5 separate regions of the Homo sapiens genome follow, and all the other regions are linked to region 5. Evidence: promoter capture Hi-C in 16 types of primary human blood cells and fetal thymus (Javierre and others, 2016). All regions are on one chromosome and are shown on one strand. The core of a region is centred on a gene start or on the middle of the fragment in contact, and the rest is flanking DNA. Distances in the headings are between cores, read along the strand shown. Region 1 holds the start of SIT1 (signaling threshold regulating transmembrane adaptor 1). Region 2 holds the start of HINT2 (histidine triad nucleotide binding protein 2). Region 3 holds the start of NFX1 (nuclear transcription factor, X-box binding 1). Region 4 holds the start of CLTA (clathrin light chain A). Region 5 holds the start of KIF24 (kinesin family member 24).

Region 1 (3,750 bases), core at 1-2,500, 1.3 Mb before region 5:
GGCTCATGCCTGTAATTCCAGCACTTTGGGAGACCGAGGTGGGCAGGTTGCTTGAGGTCAGGAGTTGAGACCAGCCTGGCAACACAGGGAGACCTATCTCTACAAAAAATGAACTAGATTAGCTGGGTGTGGTGGCACATGCCTGTAGTCCTAGCTGCTTAGGTGGCTGAGATGGGAGGATCACTTGAGCCCGGGAGATCGTCAAGGCTGCAGTGAGCTGAGATTGTGTTACTGCACTCCAACCTGGGAGACAAAGTAAGACCCTGTCTCAAAAAAAATATAAAACTTAGATCCATAAAATATTTTTCAGGGAGGATAATTTTATCACTGATTTTTTTTTTCAGAATTTCTGGAACATGGTGATAATAAGAGGACTGATTTTTATTTTTTAAATTCTCTACAGACAATGCACCCCCTTATTGCCTGCAACTCAAGGGGCAGGACTTCTGCCATCCCTATTGTTGGCATGCCACTGCACTGATTTTAAACTTTTAAAAAATGTTGTATGGGCTAGACAAAACACATCTCTGACTTCTGGTCTCAGGTTTATATTTGCAACTTAAAATCCCTCTTCCTACATCAATAGCCTTGCACGTGATGGAGTTAGCTCTAGGTATGGCAGGTACTACACCCGCTGAAGTGAACATGTGCAAGATAGGGCTCAGTTTCCCAGGACAGTCCTACAGCAAAGAGTTTTAAAATGCAATTAATTATTGAGAGTGACAGTTCTTACAGACAGTTTGGATGAAGTGGGTTGAAAGGGGAGGTTTGGGGGTGTCCCCCAAATTATAATGCCCCCAATGAAACAATAACAAGCATCATCTAAACACATATCCTCTCAGATCAGCCTTAGGGTGTGATGGGATCAGAGGTACCAGGAGGCTCCCCCGACCCTTCCACTTTATACCATACTCATTGAGGAATACATCTTTCTTCTGGGACCAGAGTCAGGGAGGAAGGTGGGCATCCTGGAGCAGAAGGGGTGTTCCTGTCCTTGTTAGTCCTGCTTCACACCACTTCTGCCCCCACCCCCCGCCCTCAGAGTCCTCAGGGACTCAACTGCCCGTGGCACATTACCCACAGGCCTGCTTCTCTTCTCAAGGGGGGCAAAGGGCCTGGGCAGCGAGGGTGGGGGAAGCTCAGGAGCTGCAGGAGTGGCGCAGGTGCAGGCACAGGGCGGGGTCTTTGTTCTTTTTTTCATCCCTCCCCTCCCCCTTCCTCCCCGGAAACCAGAGACTTTGCCACCACCAGTATTGGGGATGCTGAGCTGCGGGGTACGGGCCTGAGGAGGGATGGGAGTAAGAAGTGCTGTGGAAACCGTCAGGCCATGAACCAGGCTGACCCTCGGCTCAGAGCAGTGTGCTTGTGGACTCTCACATCTGCAGCCATGAGCAGAGGCGACAACTGCACGGATCTACTCGCACTGGGTGAGCTGGGCAGGGCAGGGGCTGGTGGGGGAGGGGTCATGTGGCCCCAGGTCCCACCTGCTGGGCCCTGGGGGTGGGGCGGGGCTGTTACACCCCCCTTCCTTTCACATCCACAGGAATCCCCTCCATAACCCAGGCCTGGGGACTGTGGGTCCTCTTAGGGGCTGTGACGCTGCTATTTCTCATCTCGCTGGCTGCACACTTGTCCCAGTGGACCAGGGGCCGGAGCAGGAGCCATCCGGGGCAGGGACGGTGGGTGAAGGACAACAGGGATGGGTTGACTGAGAGTTCTCTCTTACCGAGAAGTCCCCACTCATCCCCTAAACTCTGCGTTGCAGCTCTGGAGAGTCTGTGGAAGAGGTCCCGCTGTATGGGAACCTGCATTATCTACAGACAGGTAGGGAGCTGGCAGAGAGGAGGGGCACAGAGGCCAGGTCCTGGGTGGCTGGGATGGGGGCGTGCAGGAGGAAGGACAAGTTGCTGACCAGATTCCTGTTCCCCGTCCCAGGACGGCTGTCTCAAGACCCAGAGCCAGACCAGCAGGATCCAACTCTTGGAGGCCCTGCCAGGGTGAGTCAACTGTGGCTGGAGAAAAGGGGGAGGGAAGGAAGTGGGGGGCTTTTCGGGCTTTTCCGAGGGTCCAGTGAACTTCTAACAGCCTTGCATCTCCAGGCTGCAGAGGAGGTGATGTGCTATACCAGCCTGCAGCTGCGGCCTCCTCAGGGTCGGATCCCCGGTCCTGGAACCCCCGTCAAGTACTCGGAGGTGGTGCTGGACTCTGAGCCAAAGTCCCAGGCCTCGGGCCCCGAGCCGGAGCTCTATGCCTCAGTATGTGCCCAGACCCGCAGGGCCCGGGCCTCCTTCCCGGATCAGGCCTATGCCAACAGCCAGCCTGCAGCCAGCTGAGATGGAGGGCCTGGCACAGCGGGGCGTGCACTGCCCCAGCCCCCCGTAGCAGGGGCATGACTGTTTCCCAACCAGCACCCAAAGACGGGCGCCATTGCCAAGTCACAGGATGTGATCTACCCCGGACTTCCTATCTGAGCTTCAAGGGAGACATCTCAGGGCAAAGCTTTCGTGATGGAGGAGGCAAAGACAGTAGCCCCCTCCTTATTTCTTTTTTCTATCTGTTCCTCTTAGCCCCCAAACTCCCAGGTTCTCACTTCCTTCTTCTGGAGTTTAACCAGATCCTCCCCACCCCCGCTCCCTCATAGTCTACCCCCACGCCTCAGTGTCTCCTCAGGCACAGGAAGTGGGCGGTGGGGGAGGGGTAAGGGCCTGACAGTGGGTGGGTGGGTATATTCCTCAGGAGTCCACAGACTGGAGTGGACCTGGAACTTAGAGACGGGAGGGACCCGAGCCTGGCTTTTGACCTAAGAACCCTAGCAGGAGAATACAGTCTCCATCCTGCTGTCTCTGTCCTGTCCCCAAGTTTTCAAATAAAACTTTCCAAAAAGTGTTTAGATTTTTACCTAGAAGGCTGAAGACTTGCAAAGGGCCCTGCAGATGGGGGTGTGAGCTTTGCTGTCTGCACGGAGCTCTTTCTGGGGGTGCCTAGCTGGGGATGAGGGGCCAAGAGGGGCTGCGGCATCAACAGTGCAGAGGTGGGCACCGGGGTGGAGGGCCAGAGCCCAGCTCCTCAGCTGCTGTTGCTGCTGCTAGAACACCCCTGGGATCTGCACTCAGAGCCACTGCATTCCCCCTGGGGCTGCAAGCTCACAGTCCTGAGCTACTCTCCCCTTGACCTCTATAACTGCCATCACCTCCACAACCTGCCAGCCTGGTTCCTTCATCAAGTCCTCCAATCTGACCTCCGTCTGTCCGCTATGAGTCCCACCTATACCCCTGTTTTGACATCAGTAGCCTTATCTGCACTTAGTCATCGTATACCCCTAGAGGCCTTCTCCTTACCCCATCACTATGGCAGCGGTCCATCTCCACTCACTCTCTCCCACTCTGGCCTCCCAAAGTGCTGGGATTACAGGCATGAGCCACCGTGCCTGGCCTTCACTCTCTCAGTTGTCACCTGCAGTCTTGGCAACAGTTTTGCTTGTCACCACTTTCATTTTAATCCCCATCTAATTTGTCCTGCCTGTCCACCCATCACCTGCTGATTCTTAACCCCAGCCTCCTACCCCATATAGCATGCTACATCAGCCAGTTGGCACAGAGATTAGGACTCTGGGCTCAGGAGCCGGACTGCCTGCATTCAAATTCCATGTCTACCACTTACCAGCTGTGTGTTCTTGGGCAACTGTGCCTCGGTTTCTGAATCTGTAAGATTGAGAGGATATTAACGGTGTTTACTTCAAAAAAAGGTGGT
Region 2 (4,049 bases), core at 356-2,855, 1.5 Mb before region 5:
TAATTCAACTAATAGTCAACAATAGAGTTAGGATTACTATGATAAACTCATTGAAGGAAATAATAAGCAGCCAATACAAACTATATTTACGTAGACTGTAAAAATATGAAAAATTGATTACACATGGGTTAGTATCATATGCAATACATATTACATATTATGAAAAAAAGACAGGAAACACCAAATGTTATTCATTCAACAATTACTGACCACCTATATGTATCAGGTCATGTGTTTAAAAAAAAAAAAAAGAAAAAAAGAAAAACCAAAGAAACAGTGGTAACTTGTCCTATGTGATATCAGACTAAAACTTACCTAGCGTCTGAGAATATTAGTATTTTGTGACCCCACGTTTCTTATGTCAAAAATATATATTCCAGCAGTGCAAACCTGACTTATTGGTGCCTCATACCTGTAATCCCAGCACCTTGGGAGGCCGAGGCAGGAGGATCACGAGGTCAGGAGATCGAGACCATCCTGGCTAACACGGTGAAACCCCGTCTCTAATAAAAATACAAAAAATTAGCCGGGCGTGGTGGCGGGTGCCTGTAGTCCCAGCTACTCGGGAGGCTGAGGCAGGAGAATGGCGTGAACTCGGGAGGCGGAGCTTGCAGTGAGCCGAGATCGCGCCACTGCACTCCAGCCTGGGCGACAGAGCGAGACTCCGTCTCAAAAAAAAAAAAAAAGAAAAAAGAAAAAAAGAAAAAAAAAGAAAACACCAGGCACCGAGCTAACTGTATCACACACCTTTTCCGATTAGAAAAGAACAATGAATACATACTCCTTTGCTTATTATAATTCTTGTGCGGCAAATATAGGACACTCTTATCTCCTCCTGCTCAAAAAAAAAAAATGCAAAAACCACAGACTTTTTAATCTATGGAGTGAATGCGTTAACAAGAACATAGAATTAAGGAAGAATTTCCCTTAGATAAGTACATTAAAATCTCCAAAATGCTCAAGGGACTGAAACTGCCCTTGTGGAGAAAATGCTGCGCATCAGCCCCGCCAGTTAAAACAAACAAACAAACACAAAAAAACACACCTCATCCCCGTTCACCTTTAGCCCCACCCCGGGTGGTTCTTGGAGCCAATAAGCGCCGGATGCCCTCAGAGCCCCGCCCTCCTCCTGGCCAAAGCGGTGAGAGGGTCTAAAACAGCCCTTTCTGCAGCAGGTGGCGGAGCCCCGCCCCCTTCTCCCCGCGCACCAATAGGAACCAGACCTGAAGAGGACGAACCAAGAACGAAAAGAACCACCCACTCGGGAGCCGCAACCTAGAAGCCAGAGTTGTGTATCAGATTCAACTAGGAGAAAATCCCACCTCCAGGCTCCATTAATCCTTCCAATGGAGTGGAAGTTTCTCTCACAGAGAAACTAGTAAGGGGATCCAATGGGAAAAGAACGTTCACACGGACTAGAAGACGAAACCAATGGAATGGAAAATTGTCCTCGCGTTGGTAGAAGCAGCCAATGAGATGAAAAGAGCCCGCCTCCAAAGTGGCTGCAGAGGCAATGGGGTGAATCGTGCTCAGAGGCGCGCTCCAATGGGGTAGCAGGGCTCGCCCGGCCGCCACTACCCCGCTTCCCCGCGCCCGGAGTCCCCACCCACGGCCGGCCGCGGAGCCGAGTGCTGACCCGGGTGAGAGGTTCCCGCGGCTCAGGGAAGATGGCGGCAGCCGTGGTGCTGGCTGCTGGGTTGCGCGCGGCGCGCAGAGCCGTGGCGGCCACGGGGGTGCGCGGGGGGCAGGTGAGAAGTGGCGCGGGAGCGAGTAGGGGGTCCTGCGGGCTCCGAAGCCATCCGGGGCCAGGGGGTCCCGAAGGCGCGCAGAGCCGCGCAGAGCTCCTGCCTGTGGCCTCTGCCCCTCCGAGGCACAAGCTCCGGGGCTGTGTGGTGAGGTCGAACTGGTGGCTCCGGAGAACGAGCTGGTGCTGATTCCCGCCCTGCGCAGGCCGGGGCGCCGAGGTCGGGACAGGGTCAGTGCAGCGGCTGCCGCCTTCTTTCCACTGCCTGCAGCCCAGCTGGCCCGATGCCCCCTGCAGGAAATGAGCTTTCTCTTCTTGGAGCCAGTGCTCTGCCCTCCTCAGGCTTCTGGCCTCCTAATGAGCACTAGTGTTAACCTCTCTTCTGCACTTGCCAGAAGCGGCTCGGAGGTCAGAGAATTCATTCCGTCCCGTTCTCCCCCAACGTGATGCAATGACATCAGCCTTCTCTGAATCCCTTACCCGAAGTTCCCTGGGGCTAGGGGAGCAGAGGTCACTTAGCTGAACTCTTACCTCCACTCATTCAAGGGACAAGAGTTAAAATTCACAGAGTCACATGTGACACCCAGATGAGGGGTCAACTAGTGTCAAACAGGGCGATTGCATTAAAACTTAAATAAAACAGGCGACAAGGCTTAAAGATCAGAAAACAAGTAACGGAAATAAGTGGAAATGTACTAACAAGGTGAGAGTGGAAAGAGATTCAAGCCATCGCAAGAGATTATGGAAACCATCCCTTTATTTTATATTAGAAGCTGAGAGAAGGAATTTATCTGAGGTAATTCAGTGGTATGGTAAGGTAGGAACTGAGACCAAAATCCCCAGTCTCTCATTCTAGATCCTTTCCCTAAACAGTGCTATATTTCGTGGACACATGAGCAGGAATCAATTGCACTGCTGAATCCTGATAATAATACCGCCTGTTATCTAACCAGGTCCAGCACCTTCTGGCCCTACCCTTTGCTGCTGGTGCTCTGAAATTCAGGAACTTTCCTCCTGGGTGGGAACGATGAATAGGTTATTAGAAGGACGAAATTAACAACTATCAGAGCCCAGCTTCTGCCAGCTCCCTCCTTTGAATATGGTCGATCCACCTTCAGGTCCGAGGAGCTGCAGGTGTGACTGATGGGAATGAAGTGGCCAAGGCCCAGCAGGCAACTCCTGGGGGAGCAGCCCCAACCATCTTCTCCCGGATCCTGGACAAGAGCCTCCCAGCTGACATTCTCTATGAGGACCAGCAGGTGGGGTGCTCTTAGGACCTATCCCCTTAGGAATGTTGTAGATACCATCCAACCTGTTGAAGTAACGTGGCCTCTGGCCTGTCACTTCCCCCAGTGTCTTGTGTTCCGTGATGTGGCCCCTCAGGCTCCTGTGCACTTCCTGGTCATTCCTAAGAAGCCCATTCCTCGGATTAGCCAGGCTGAAGAAGAAGACCAGCAGGTGGGAAGAACAGGGCCAGGGTTTGGCTGGGAGGAGCCCCTGGACCCAGCTAGAGGTCTTGCTCCCTATGAATGAAGCCACCTATGTCCCTCCGCTCTCTCTATAGCTTCTAGGACACCTACTCCTTGTGGCCAAGCAGACAGCAAAGGCTGAGGGCCTGGGAGATGGATACCGACTTGGTGAGTGACTTTTGGCCCTTGGTCCCTCACCTATGAATTCTCATTCCTACTTCTCAATATGATCTTCATTCTTCGACCTCTGCCATGATCCTGACTCCCTAACCCCAAGCTCAATTTCAGTGATCAACGATGGGAAGCTGGGTGCACAATCTGTGTATCATCTGCACATTCATGTACTTGGGGGCCGGCAGCTCCAGTGGCCTCCAGGTTGAACCTGCCAACTGATTAAAGGACACCAGACTCTGGATGCTTGGATGGAAAGGGAAAAATGGACCCTGTGATGCTAATAAAACTGTTCTCCCTTAATTATGCTCTCCTGTCTTTAATATAAAATTTTATACCACAAAGGGGAAAGAAAACTGATTCAGGGCTATGATGCCCCTTGACTGGTCTGAGTGAAAGACACTGAGGAGGTCCAACCTGTGGTTAAATGTTGCCTGCAGATATGTAAGTCTTCTTGACAAGTGGTCCACCCTAGGTCAAGCTTCTAGAAAAGTAACAGTAGGAATGAGCCTAAATGAGTAGGAAGAAACTGAAAGCCAATCCTGGCCCTTCTTCAGAGGTCAAACCAGGTTCTAAGGGCGCTTAGGAGGAGGGTGGTCAATATGAGGGTCTTTTATTAGAGGAGGAGTAATCACACCCAAACAAAAGCGGCTGCCTTTTCACTA
Region 3 (3,828 bases), core at 1,201-3,700, 1.0 Mb after region 5:
CACAAAAGGATTAGACAAATGCAGAGGGTGGCAGAGGTATTCTGGAAACATAAGATAATTTAAAGGTTGGAATGGTTAAATTGGACCAGTGGGTATTGTGTAGTTCTCGCTTGCTTGAAAAAGCGAGACTGGAAAGAGGGGCAGAAATAAGATCAGTAAAGATGTCTAGAGAAGCCTAGTAAAGGATAGGAAAAGAGTGTTTCTCGTTAAGCAGTAATGAGTTGATGCAACTAGAGAATCCAGAGAAGGCTGCATGTACTCATATACAGGATATGTTCAACTAGACATGAGGCAGCAGGCAAAGCCCTCAGGAAAAAAACCCATAAGAGACATGAGGAAGGGAAACAGGACACATTGATCAGGAAACTGGCCATGGCAAAGATCAGAGGCACCATTTTTATTTCACTATTTCAAGTAGCTGGAAGTTAGTAAACAGGATGTCTAGTCACCACGGCTAGAATACAAGTGGTACCCTAAATCCAAGATAACACAGCAGCACAGTAGGTGTCCAACAGGTGGGAAAGGCAGACTAAAGGGAAATCCAACTGGCAGATTACAAAGTCCAGAGACAAGGCTGGCATTGCAGAGTCTGCTCACCGGCAGAAAAGTATCCTCTGCACTGGGCTTCTGTTTAAAGACTTTGATGATGAGGGTGTGGGCTAAAGATGATGCTAAAATACGAACATGGAATGGGAACTAAAGCAAAATCAAACTAAAGCACATGAAAAGGAGTAAGGAGGTCTTTGGACTAGAAGATTTTGCCTCATTAGATACTTTCTGGGTTGGAGGTAATAACTTGGGCACAACACCAAAGTTCAACACGAAGACTCACAACTAGGCCCCACCGAATTCTTCTTCAAACACTGAAGGGTACAGAAATGAGTCAGAAACGAGCCTGTGGATGAGACGATCAATAGATCCAGTTTAGAGAATCTGGTGAAGGACTAGGTGAGGAGAATAACAAAATACCCAGCCCAAAAAGTTTTCCAACCCCAAGGAAGACTTAATATCCACATCAAGACTAGGGTACACCAATGCAGTGTGTTTTCCAACTTTTTTTTTTGAGACGAAGTCACACTCTGTCGCCCAGGCTGGAGTGCAGTGGCACGATCTTGGCTCACTGCAACTTCCGCCTCCAGGGTTCAAGCAATTCTCTTGCCTCAGCCTCCGGAGTAGCTGGGACTACAGGCGCGTGCCACCATGCCCAGCTAATTTTTTGTATTTTTAGTAGAGACGGGGTTTCACCGTGTTAGCCAGGATGGTCTCGATCTCCTGACCTCGTGATCCGTCCACCTCGGCCTCCCAAAGTGCTAGGATTACAGGCGTGAGCCACCACGCCCGGCCCTAACTTTTTAAACTAAGAACCATAGTAATAAATACATTTTACCTGCCACCCAGTATACAAATACATATATGGTCTTCTTGGTGCCCCAACGGCTGGTCAGGGACAGAGCTGAGATTCAAACCAATGGTTTCCAAACTCCATTCTGCAAACTGCTGCCCTGTTTTCCAGAGTGGGCCATAAAATCAAATGAAGGCAGTGGGCTGTGACATATTTTTAAACGAAACAGAAAACAGAATATATTGCTGATTGTAAAACAAACCAACCAACCTCACTGCTTCCAGAAACTTCTGGTTCGCTTTTATATTTATGTAAGTGTACAATATTTAAGGTCGCGATGCAAAATGTTTCTTTTGGTTGCTGTCCAACACATTTGGAAAACACTGATCTATGGAACACCCTGAGGAAATGGATGTTATATCAACGAACAAATGAGGCTGTCTCTACACACTGAGGCAACTCCAGGAGGGGGAGTGAGTGAACAATTACAGAATAGGTACAGTACAGGGCGGGAGCCATCACAGGAATTAACTTATCTACTCCCAACTGACAGATGAGGAGACTGAGACTGAGTCACACGGGGTTCGCAGCAGGCTGAGACTCTAAACTACTGGAATTCGGCTCGCGCCCACGCCACCACTCCAGGCGGTATGAGCACACCACACCCTACACGTCAAGAGCCCGCCACCGTCACTGGCTGTGACCTGGCCGACGCCCGCCTGTCGAAGGTCAGTGCGCCGCTGCCCCAGAAACAGCCTGTGGGAAGGCAGGGCACCCACATCGACTCGCAGCGCCGGGACAAGTCCTCTCTCCTCCGAAACCCAGCTACTGGGCTTCACCATCTAGTCCAAGAAGACACAGATCTTCGTACGCACGATGCGCGGGGCTTGGCCCTTCCGAGCCACTATCCTACGCCCTAGCATGTGCTACTCTCGCGATATGAGTGGCTGAGGCCCTAGAACTTCGTCACTGACCCAATTTCCGCTCCCTGAAAGGGGCCCAGTCCCGCTCGGGCCGGGACAATACCTGAGACAGGAGGCGCCTCCGCCATCCCGTGCCGCAGAACCTAGATCGAGCTGTACAGCCAAGTCAGCACTGTCACCAGGTCACGTGCCCCGGACTTCCGGCGCCGCGAGAATATTCGCATCTGCGCGCCGTGTAGACGGCCACAGAGGTTGCGCAGCCCGAATCTGTGTGGCGCGTTCGTGACGTCAGATAGACGCGCCAGGTGTCGGGCGGGAGGAGGAGACTAGTAGCTGGATGGAAATAGCAACAATCGCAGGAGGGAGGGCGGCGACTTGCGTAATCATTGTGGTTTTCCTTTTTTTATTTTTTGATATAGGGTCTTGCTGCCTTACCCAGGCTTGAGTGCAGTGGTCTGATCATGGCTCACTATAGCTTCAGTCTCTAATCCTCCCGCCTCAGCCTTCCGGTAGCTGGAACTACAGGCGGAGCCACCATGCGCAGCTATTTTTAGTAGAGACGGGTTTCGCCATGTTGCCCAGGCTAGTCTCTCCAACTCCTGGCCTCAAGCGATCCTGCCGCTTTGGCCTCCTAAAGTGCTTGGCTTACAGGCGAGCCACCACGCCTGGCTCCAGACTTTTTTTTTTTTTTTTTTTTTTACAAAGGCGTTTATTCTCATCAGTATCACCGATATTCTCATGGTTCACATTTGCCAACGCCGCTCCTCTCCTTACAGTAGTTAAATGTGCAATCTCACTTGGGGGCCCAGGGAGGGGTGGGGGCTCGGCCCAGGGTGGGGAGGGCGTTGGCACTTCACGTGGACAGGGTGGGCAGCCTGTCCTGCGTGAAAGAGGTGTGGGTGAGTGGGCGGCCAGGGAAGGGGAGTTGGCAGGGGAGGGCCCCGCAGTCTTTTTTTCTTTGGTGGTTGGTGATTCTCCATTCAGATTCCTTCCTGGCTTCCCAGGGTAGGGGAACCATGCAGCTCAGGGCAGGGCAGGGGAGGAAGAGAAGGAAAAAGCAGCAGGCCGCCCGGGGGGAAAGGTGGAGGGTGAACGGCAGGGCAAGGGGGAACGGGTGGCTCCTGAGGTAAGGCACAACCCTGTCTTTGGCTTTCCTGGTGAGGAGTTTCCTCCCCTGCACCCCCTGCCCGACGCTTCTCCCCACCCCCCCACCCCCCAGACCCACACACAGTCCCAGGAGCCAGGGGGCACCACCTCCTGGGGTCCCTGAAACAAGTGGGCTCTGCCACCCAAGCCAGTGCCGCAGGGGCTCGAGGAGGGACACCCGAGGAAAAGGCAGAGAGGGGCAGGCAGGGGCCTACCCAGGACAAGGGGGTGGGGGTGAGAAGACCCTAGGCCCAGGAGCTGGGCCCCCCGCCCCAACTAAGTCCTGGAAGTGGGGGAGCACCTGCTTCCTTTCGGGGGTCTGGCTGGAGCCCCGGTCTGCCCCTTGGCCTCCGTCAGGCCCAGCCACTTGCCAAGTGACCAGGGCATTGTGCTTTGGGGTAAACGCTGGGGTGGGGT
Region 4 (3,773 bases), core at 832-3,331, 1.9 Mb before region 5:
ATTTCTTTGTCAAACGTGAGCATCTACTACATGTCAGACACACTGCTAGGCAGTGGAGATAAAACAGTAAGGGTAACACTGTCCTTGAATCAGGACAATCTTCCAACTACAGATCTTGGGTTCTGCTTCTCCCAAATCTGTTCCACCTGGGACAGCCACAGCTGCCTGTCTGTTATCGCACTACACCCCTGCTAAAACAACTAAACACTGCAACAGAATGTGGTATATTCTAAGAGTGGGTAGACTTGGGGCTCAGCTATTAACTCGTGCTTTTTTAAGCAAGTCGTTTCTCTCTAGGATTGCTTCTCTTCTATTAAATGAGGAAGGTTAAACTAAGGGTCTAAGAAGTCAATTTTAAAATTCTCAGACAAATGTTAGAGACCACCCAATGAAAATATCCCCTAATCACTTAAGGCCAACTTCATCTCACAATCACAGCCTAGTTTAGTCCAACCTACCCGCTATAAAGTTGCATATTCGGGCATATTACATGTTCCCACTAAGTTCTTATTGGGGGACTGATTTGTTTAGGAAGCAACATGGTGCAGTCAAAAACTCAAGAGGCTGCAAACTAGCAGCACACCCACCAACCCATCCATCAAAAGGTTCCGCCTGGCTGGCACAGTAACTTGAGACTGCTGGATCTGAATGCCTTTACACAGAGCACTACTATAGTGCAGCAAAGCCTCAGTCTCCAACACTTCTACTGTCTCATGTCAAGCCAGCTTCTCTCGTATATGTTACCTACCTGGCTCCTTAAGGTTTGAATTTAGGGTAGACACTACTCCTATATGCCCCAGTAGTGCCCTATTCTCCCTTAGTTGGAATTTTTTAAGTGAATGAAAAGCCGTATTTCATTTCTTCTAGCTAAATTTCCTACTTCTTTGTATTATTAAGTAGGTCTTTTCCACTCATGATCCTAAGCATCACACACAGGTTAAGGCATCCAAAGGTCAAACTGCCATCCTACCTGCCCCATTTTTACTTGAGTTTGGCTGAGAACATTCTCTATTCACCTCTTCATCCCTCCCTGATTGGTTTAGGCTAATCTTGGGTTCTGCTTAGGCAATATTGCCTACCAAAGCTGTTCCCAGAGGAAGAGCTCCAGAAGTCCTAGCTGTAAATCAATCGCTCAACGATAGCAAACTCCTACCGCGCTTGGCAGTTCTTTCTCCAGACCTAGATCATCTTTCGAGTTCCCTACTCCCTCCTTCCTCCTCGTAATCCAACACTCTGTACACCTTAAGTGCTTAAATGCTGAACTGCATTGCTACTTTTGTTTGTATCTCTCAAAAACGATATTTCCATTCTTATTTTTTTCCGCCCTCCTTTTCTAATAACGAGTTCTGTGCTCGGCTCAGACTTATAAGCTTATAAGTCTGGAAAAACTGCGCCAATGCGGTTGCTTCAGAGACCGGACTAAAGGCACAGCAAATGCTTAATGAAAAGTTGCTGAATTGAACGGGCTTCTTCCGGCTCCGGAGCCTGCCACCCTACACTTGCTTTCTCGCTCCGCCCGCGCCCAGAAGCACTCAAACATGCTGAGAACCGAACAGGCTTCTCGAGCCTAGGTTTCTGAAAGACCGGGCCAGGGTCTCGTTTCCTGTTTGCACTGCTCCCTAACCTCCTAATTCAGCAAGGAGCACGAGTCACACAGAAGCTCTCGGACCCACTGTGGACCGAGTTTCCAGACAAGTCCTCTCGCCCCAAACGCGCCCGCACTCTCACCCGGACCCCCCGGCGGCTCGCCGTGCGGCTGGGGCCCGGGGGCGCCGCCGTCCAGGATGGCGAAGGCCTCGTCGTTCTCGATGCCCGCAATCTCGCTCTCTTGCTGCGCCAAGAAGGCCGCAGCCGGGTCTTCTTCGCCGGCGCCGGCCACTCCGTTCCCCAGCGCGGGACCGCCAGGGGCGCCGGCAGGGGCGCCGAACGGATCCAGCTCAGCCATGGCGGGCAACTGAACGGCACGGACACCAACGGTGAGACAAAAACCAACCGACCCACCGACACCACGCCCGGCAGCCACCGCTGTGGTGCCGACTGGGAGAGGAGGACAAGCGCCAGGAGGGAGACGGGTAAAGCGGAAGCCCTACCCGTGTATCCGGTCGGTCTAGGCGGTGTTGCAGAGCCGAAAAGGGAACAACCAATCAGAGGACAACAATGGTTCAGGAGCTACCCAATCAGCAAGTGGAGGGGCGGTCCCCCTAAAACAACTCGTGACTGGGGTAGGGCGGGAGGTGAGGGAGGTGAGCTGCGCGGGCCCCGGGAGGCGGAAGTGCTGCCTGATAGGGAGCGTCCTACCCACCCCGTCTGCTGGAGCTGGACTGACCAGGGACGGCCACCCCTGAGGGGACTCTAGTGCTGCACTGGGAGGTGAGGTGAAGTTAGGGCAGCGACGATTGGCCGATTACTGAAGAGGCATGCCACTTAGGCTTTCTGAACCTCAGTTTCCTCATTCGTAAAATAGAAACAAGAATCCTGCTCTTGCGCCCCCTCCCGGGATTATTAGAAGATTGAATCCTAAAAAAAAAGAAGAAGAAGATTGAATCCTTTTATGGATTTGAGGGTCCCTGGCTTTATAAATTTAAAATATTTAATTCTTTCAGCCAGCCTGGATTATTTGCTCCCTTAGAGCCCATAGATTTACTGTAATTGATTCAGTCCACTCCGATTTTTCTCGCCCATAAGTATTTTTATTTAAAAATGAATATATCTTATCTTCTTCAACGAAGCACTTTTGCAGCCATTACGTCTTTTCGGAGCTAGACAGAAGTTACTAAACCTGGAAAATTCCTTAAGGATCACTTGCTTCAAAGGGAGACACGGTGGCCCTGCTGTTCAAGGAGCGTCAGTGACCCAGAGAGTCAGTGACCAAGAGGAAACGCCTGTCTCCTGGGGACTTCCAAGATACTAGCTACAGTCTCTTATATTTACACCTTTCCTCCCTAAGGACAGCAGGAAAAAGAAAGTTCCGTGTTTCTTTTTAAATCAGGGAGATGTTAATAGCTACATGGCTCATTTTGTCTACACCACAGAAATAACAGTGGTTCCAGTTAATCATGCTCATGTTGAGGGGGAGTGCTTATGCAGGGGCCACCAGAAGACCCCTCTCCTTCACTACCACCACCACCACCCTAAGAAATGAAAAGCCAAAAAAAGAAACCAAAAAACCAGAGGTCAACAAGAAGCTTCCAGAGGTAGTCAGCAGGGGACAAGAAAGTGTTTTTATAAAAAACGCACATATCTTTGATGACAAAAAAAAAGGGATAGCTATGAAGGAAAAATGAAGCAAATAAAAATTATTTAAAGCATATATTTACTTAAAGCATAATTTTAAAGTCATTTAAAGTATGAACCATAGGAAAGTGTTGAAGAAAAACATTTAAGAAAGTTAAAATGTTAGGGTCTGCAATTGATTCTGTTTCCCCTTGTCTGTTGTTTTATGCTCATCCCTAACATACATTGGCAACAGTGCATGAAGTATTTTCACATTAGCCTTGACATAGTCTCATGAGGAAAAGAGGGGCAGGGACTACTATGAGAGAGCCCAAGGAAGACAACTTTTAGTTGCTCACAACAGTAGTAGCTCCGGAACAGACAGCATTCTTTTTGGGGAAATGCATGACTTTGGGAGAAACTCTCCTGTGATTCCCTTGCTAGAGGAGGCATTACATATTATGCAAAAGCAACAAACAAGTATACACTCAAAATTGGAGGAATAGCTGATGTGTTTACGGATGATTTCACAGAGGTGGCTTGGAGCTCAGTTTTGAAAT
Region 5 (3,772 bases), core at 506-3,005:
ACGCACTGACTAGTGTATTTGCCTGTTCTTATTATAAGAATAATAGCTACCTTTTTTTTTTTGAGACGGAGTCTCCCTCTGTCGCCCAGGCTGGAGTGCAGTGGTGCGATCTCTGCTCTCTGCAAACTCCGCCTCCCGGGTTCGTGCCATTCTCCTGCCTCAGCCTCCCGAGTAGCTGGGACCACAGGCGCCCGCCACCACGCCCGGCTAATTTTTTGTGTTTTTAGTAGAGACGGGGTTTCACCGTGTCAGCCAGGATGGTCTCGATCTCCTGACCTCGTGATCCGCCCGCCTCGGCCTCCCAAAGGGCTAGGATTACAGGCGTGAGCCACCGCGCCCGGCCGCTACCATTTTTTAAGAAGTTACTACTCGCCAGGCGTTGTGTCAAGTGCTTTACCTTCATTATTTCACTTAATCTTCACAACAACCCGCTGAGGCATTACTGCCATTTTTCAGAAGAGTAGAAAGGGAACTATAGCTCAGAGATGTCTGGGTAAGTGACTCAAATGTAGGTCTGCCTGACTCCTAACATCAATGATCTTAACCTTAACTCTATAATAGCGTTTTACATTTGACAATTTGATTGCATTCAGTTTTTTTTTGTTTTGTTTTGTTTTTGAGACGGAGTCTCGCTCTGTCGCCCAGGCTGGAGTGCAGTGGCGCGACCTCCGCTCACTGCAAGCTCCGCCTCCTGGGTTCATGCCATTCTCCTGCCTCAGCCTCCCGAGTAGCAGGGACTATACGTGCCCGCCACGACGCCTGGCTAACTTTTGTATTTTGTTTAGTAGAGACGGGGTTTCACCGTGTTAGCCAGGATGGTCTCGATCTCCTGACCTCGTGATCCGCCCGCCTTGGCCTCCCAAAATGCTGGGATTACAGGCGTGAGCCACCGCACCCGGCCTGCATTGTTTACGCTGTCCCTTTTTTGTTTGTTTGTTTAAGGCGGTGGGGCTCTTGTTCGACTTTCTTTACTTCTGCTATAACTGCCACGATATTATCCATTCAATAACTGAAGCAATTAGAAAACATAAAATCTCTTTTGGAAAGCAGGCGGGGTTTAATGGGTAGCAACAAGTGAAACTGAGGCCCAGGGAGGGGAAGGTTCGGCGCCTGGGCCTCTGGGCCCTAAACCTGGACCTCTCCCGCCTCTGGGATTTGGACGACCCACCCTATCCCCACTCCGACGGGGACAAGCAAGGCTCAGAGTCAGGGAACCTCCCTTCTCCCGGTGCAGACAGGAAAACTGAGGTCCTGAGAGCGGATGGGACCTGGCCTGCCCACACCTCACTGCCAACTTAGAGGAGGGCGCATCCCTCTCGGGCCCTGCAGCGACCAGAGGTTTGCCAGAGGCAGATTCCCATCGCTCCAAGGCTCATTTCCTCCACTGAGAACTAAAATCAAGTGGGCCCTTAAGGGTACTCACCCGAAGCAGAAGGAGGTAGGAGGCGGACCTTGGACGGAAACTGAAGTACACCGGCCAATCAGAAGAGCCTGGTTACGCTTGGGCCCATCAATAGAATTCGGCAGAAGGATCTTCGACCCGCCTCAAAGGTGCGCGTCTCACACTGAAACGTCGCGAGATCTTCCCTCAAGCGGAACGATTGGCTGAAGGTCGGAAATTGAGAGTTACGCCCACGGTTTCTTCAGACCTCTGATTGGTCTTCCAGAGGAGAAGTCAACGAACGTCAACCGATTCCTTGGATGCCCATTGGTGGGCGGTGCGGGACTGGCGACGCGCGGGCCACAGCGCGGGCGTTCGAACTGGCGCTTGGCGGCGTTGCCATGGAGATGCGGCCTGGCCGCCGCCGGTGGCTCCCGGGTTGACGGGACTGTTAGGTTGCGGGCTTTGGGGCTCACTCCCGACGGCATTGTCTTCTCCTCTTCTCAGACAGGGCAGACCGAGGAGTTTGGACCGAGGTGAGAAAGGGCGGGGAGAATAGAGGAGGGGTAGGTCTGGTCCGGAACCGTGGCGCCTGCCCGCGGACACGGGTGCGCGTGACGTCGGCTGAGCGCGGGAGGAAACTGGCAGTTGTGAGGGAACCGAGAGTTGGCCCCTCTTGGCTCTTCCTAAAGTTCACCTACTTTCCTATCTTTCATCCCCATATCTCTGCCTTTTCTTCAGCAATTATCTTGAACGCCACTTCTCTCACTTTGGGAGACTAAACTCTTGAGTCCCAAAGCCTTCTTGCTTTTGAACCGATAAGCCTGACCGGCACCTCTTTTAGGGCATTTCTATTCGCCCTTGGGTTGTTTACTTCCGGGAAGCCCGTTCGCTTCCCTTTTCCCATAAAATTTTGAAGCCTTTGAGGTAAGGCAAGCATCGTTCACAATGTCTTGCACATAGTAGATTTTCAGGAAATATTTGTTGAGTTGAATTTAATTTACAAGAAATAGATTGGATTCCTCTTCATGCCCTGCCTTGTTGTCTCTCTGCTTCAGAGACGATTTTTTATTTCGAGGCTAGGGGGAGGCCACCCTAATCTTCAATGCAAAAGGACCTAAAAGTCCACACACAGTCCACAGCTGGCCTTTCTACTCTTTGTGAAAGGCTAAACTTTTTTGGATTGGTTGCTGCAACTCTTCCTGCATCTGTGGCTTTTAGCCTTGGTCTCCCAATAATTTTATTAGACTCCTTTTAGTCTTTGCTTAAAATAAACCATTCTGTTGCTGTATGCCAAGATAATTTATCTCCCTTTAGCTTCTTAGTGACCGGCAGCTATTGTCACATTTTAAGTGTGCTTTGGAAAATGTTTTAAAGCATCTTCTTTGTACTTGTATTCTACAAGTAGAGAGGCTTTGTAGTCTCTCTATTGAAGTGCATATAACAGCTGCTCAGGTGAACTCCATCTATTCATCAGGTGTCTATGATAGAATTGCGTTCCTAAGACTGTTTCGTTGTTAACTCATGGATTATATATTCACAGCCTGATTGTTGGTGTGATTGCTCCTTATATCAAATTCATAGCTCACTGGTGGCCTTAATAAAAGGAGTGAAAAAGTTCAGTACAGCAGCTATGTTCTTGTTACCCTTTTATAAAAGTTTGAAACACTACCTTATAGCTGTGACATGTAGTGGAAACCCACTACATGTGGGTTTGGCTTTGGCTCTGTCTCTGTCTCTAATTCACTGTGGGTGGCTTTGCAAGTCATTTAGTCCCTTTATTATTATTATTATTTTTTTTTTATTAGAGAAAATGTCTTGCTCTGTCACCCAGGCTGTAGTGCACTAGCATGATAATAGCTCACCGCAGCCTTGAACGCCTGAATCTAGCCCCTTTAGACCTCATTTTTTCCATCTGGAAAATCAAAGAATTGAATTAGATTAAAATTCCTGTGGCTCTACTCTCAAGTCAAGTAGTTGATGTCAGGTAGACCACACACTCTCAGCCTTCCAAAGACCATACAGACTTTTTTTTTAGCTGCTGAAAGTAGTAGTTACCATTTATTGAGTGTTCACCCCGTACAAAGCACTGTATCCAGGGCTTTATATGCATATTACATTTTTCTTAGTGTAGCACATTACTGCTAAGATAGCATTTTATTTAAAATTTGTGGTTTTATATTGTTAATGAAAATCTTTAGTTATTCAGAGTGTGTCCTTGGGGCAACCTAAGGTATGAGCCTCTCAGTTTTTAGTTTAGGGAGAACCACAGTTTCTTTCTCTGGGCTGCTCTTTTGTCGTAAAGTGAGGGGCTGAACTCTTCTAGATCCCTTCCAGATCTAGTATTCTATGATGCCTGATATATTAATCCAGTTTCCCTATGCTGGCTCA

What was found. The method cuts DNA at HindIII sites, captures the fragments that hold promoters and counts their contacts. A CHiCAGO score of 5 or more calls a contact.
Region 1: a contact is called between the fragment with the promoter of SIT1 here and the fragment with the promoter of KIF24 in region 5, in 1 of 17 cell types (neutrophils). The highest score is 6.1, in neutrophils.
Region 2: a contact is called between the fragment with the promoter of HINT2 here and the fragment with the promoter of KIF24 in region 5, in 1 of 17 cell types (neutrophils). The highest score is 6.7, in neutrophils.
Region 3: the fragment with the promoter of NFX1 here is called in contact with the fragment with the promoter of KIF24 in region 5 in 1 of 17 cell types (neutrophils); the score reaches 6.3 in neutrophils.
Region 4: a contact is called between the fragment with the promoter of CLTA here and the fragment with the promoter of KIF24 in region 5, in 1 of 17 cell types (erythroblasts). The highest score is 5.4, in erythroblasts.

The regions. Positions count from the first base shown.
Region 1 is chr9:35,648,431-35,652,180 of GRCh38, reverse strand. SIT1 (signaling threshold regulating transmembrane adaptor 1) reads left to right here and starts at 1,250. Exons shown (of 5, transcript NM_014450.3): 1 at 1,250-1,427; 2 at 1,544-1,679; 3 at 1,766-1,824; 4 at 1,936-1,997; 5 at 2,100-2,886. The coding sequence starts at 1,328. The coding sequence ends at 2,333. RefSeq lists a silencer at 1,470-1,539 and an enhancer at 2,450-2,499. The HindIII fragment of the contact is 5,575 bases long and covers 1-2,501 here.
Region 2 is chr9:35,812,598-35,816,646 of GRCh38, reverse strand. HINT2 (histidine triad nucleotide binding protein 2) reads left to right here and starts at 1,605. Exons shown (of 5, transcript NM_032593.3): 1 at 1,605-1,748; 2 at 2,863-3,003; 3 at 3,098-3,202; 4 at 3,309-3,381; 5 at 3,502-3,687. The coding sequence starts at 1,668. The coding sequence ends at 3,593. It overlaps FAM221B (family with sequence similarity 221 member B), which reads left to right. Exons shown (of 7, transcript NM_001012446.4): 7 at 1-256. RefSeq lists silencers at 963-1,142, 1,473-1,792 and an enhancer at 1,233-1,412. The HindIII fragment of the contact is 5,278 bases long and covers 1-3,867 here.
Region 3 is chr9:33,289,138-33,292,965 of GRCh38, reverse strand. It overlaps NFX1 (nuclear transcription factor, X-box binding 1), which reads right to left and starts at 2,450. Exons shown (of 24, transcript NM_002504.6): 1 at 2,369-2,450. The coding sequence starts at 2,393. It also overlaps the pseudogene LOC100862682. RefSeq lists enhancers at 2,175-2,224, 1,206-2,405, 2,375-2,424, 2,435-2,854, 3,560-3,828. The HindIII fragment of the contact is 6,050 bases long and covers 1-3,828 here.
Region 4 is chr9:36,189,229-36,193,001 of GRCh38, reverse strand. It overlaps CLTA (clathrin light chain A), which reads right to left and starts at 2,081. Exons shown (of 5, transcript NM_001833.4): 1 at 1,729-2,081. The coding sequence starts at 1,945. RefSeq lists enhancers at 1,886-2,105, 1,821-2,446. The HindIII fragment of the contact is 1,815 bases long and covers 1,373-3,187 here.
Region 5 is chr9:34,327,251-34,331,022 of GRCh38, reverse strand. KIF24 (kinesin family member 24) reads left to right here and starts at 1,755. Exons shown (of 13, transcript NM_194313.4): 1 at 1,755-1,917. It overlaps NUDT2 (nudix hydrolase 2), which reads right to left and starts at 1,454. Exons shown (of 5, transcript NM_001161.5): 1 at 1,424-1,454. RefSeq lists enhancers at 1,509-1,698, 1,234-1,741, 1,829-1,928, 2,029-2,088. The HindIII fragment of the contact is 30,936 bases long and covers 1-3,772 here.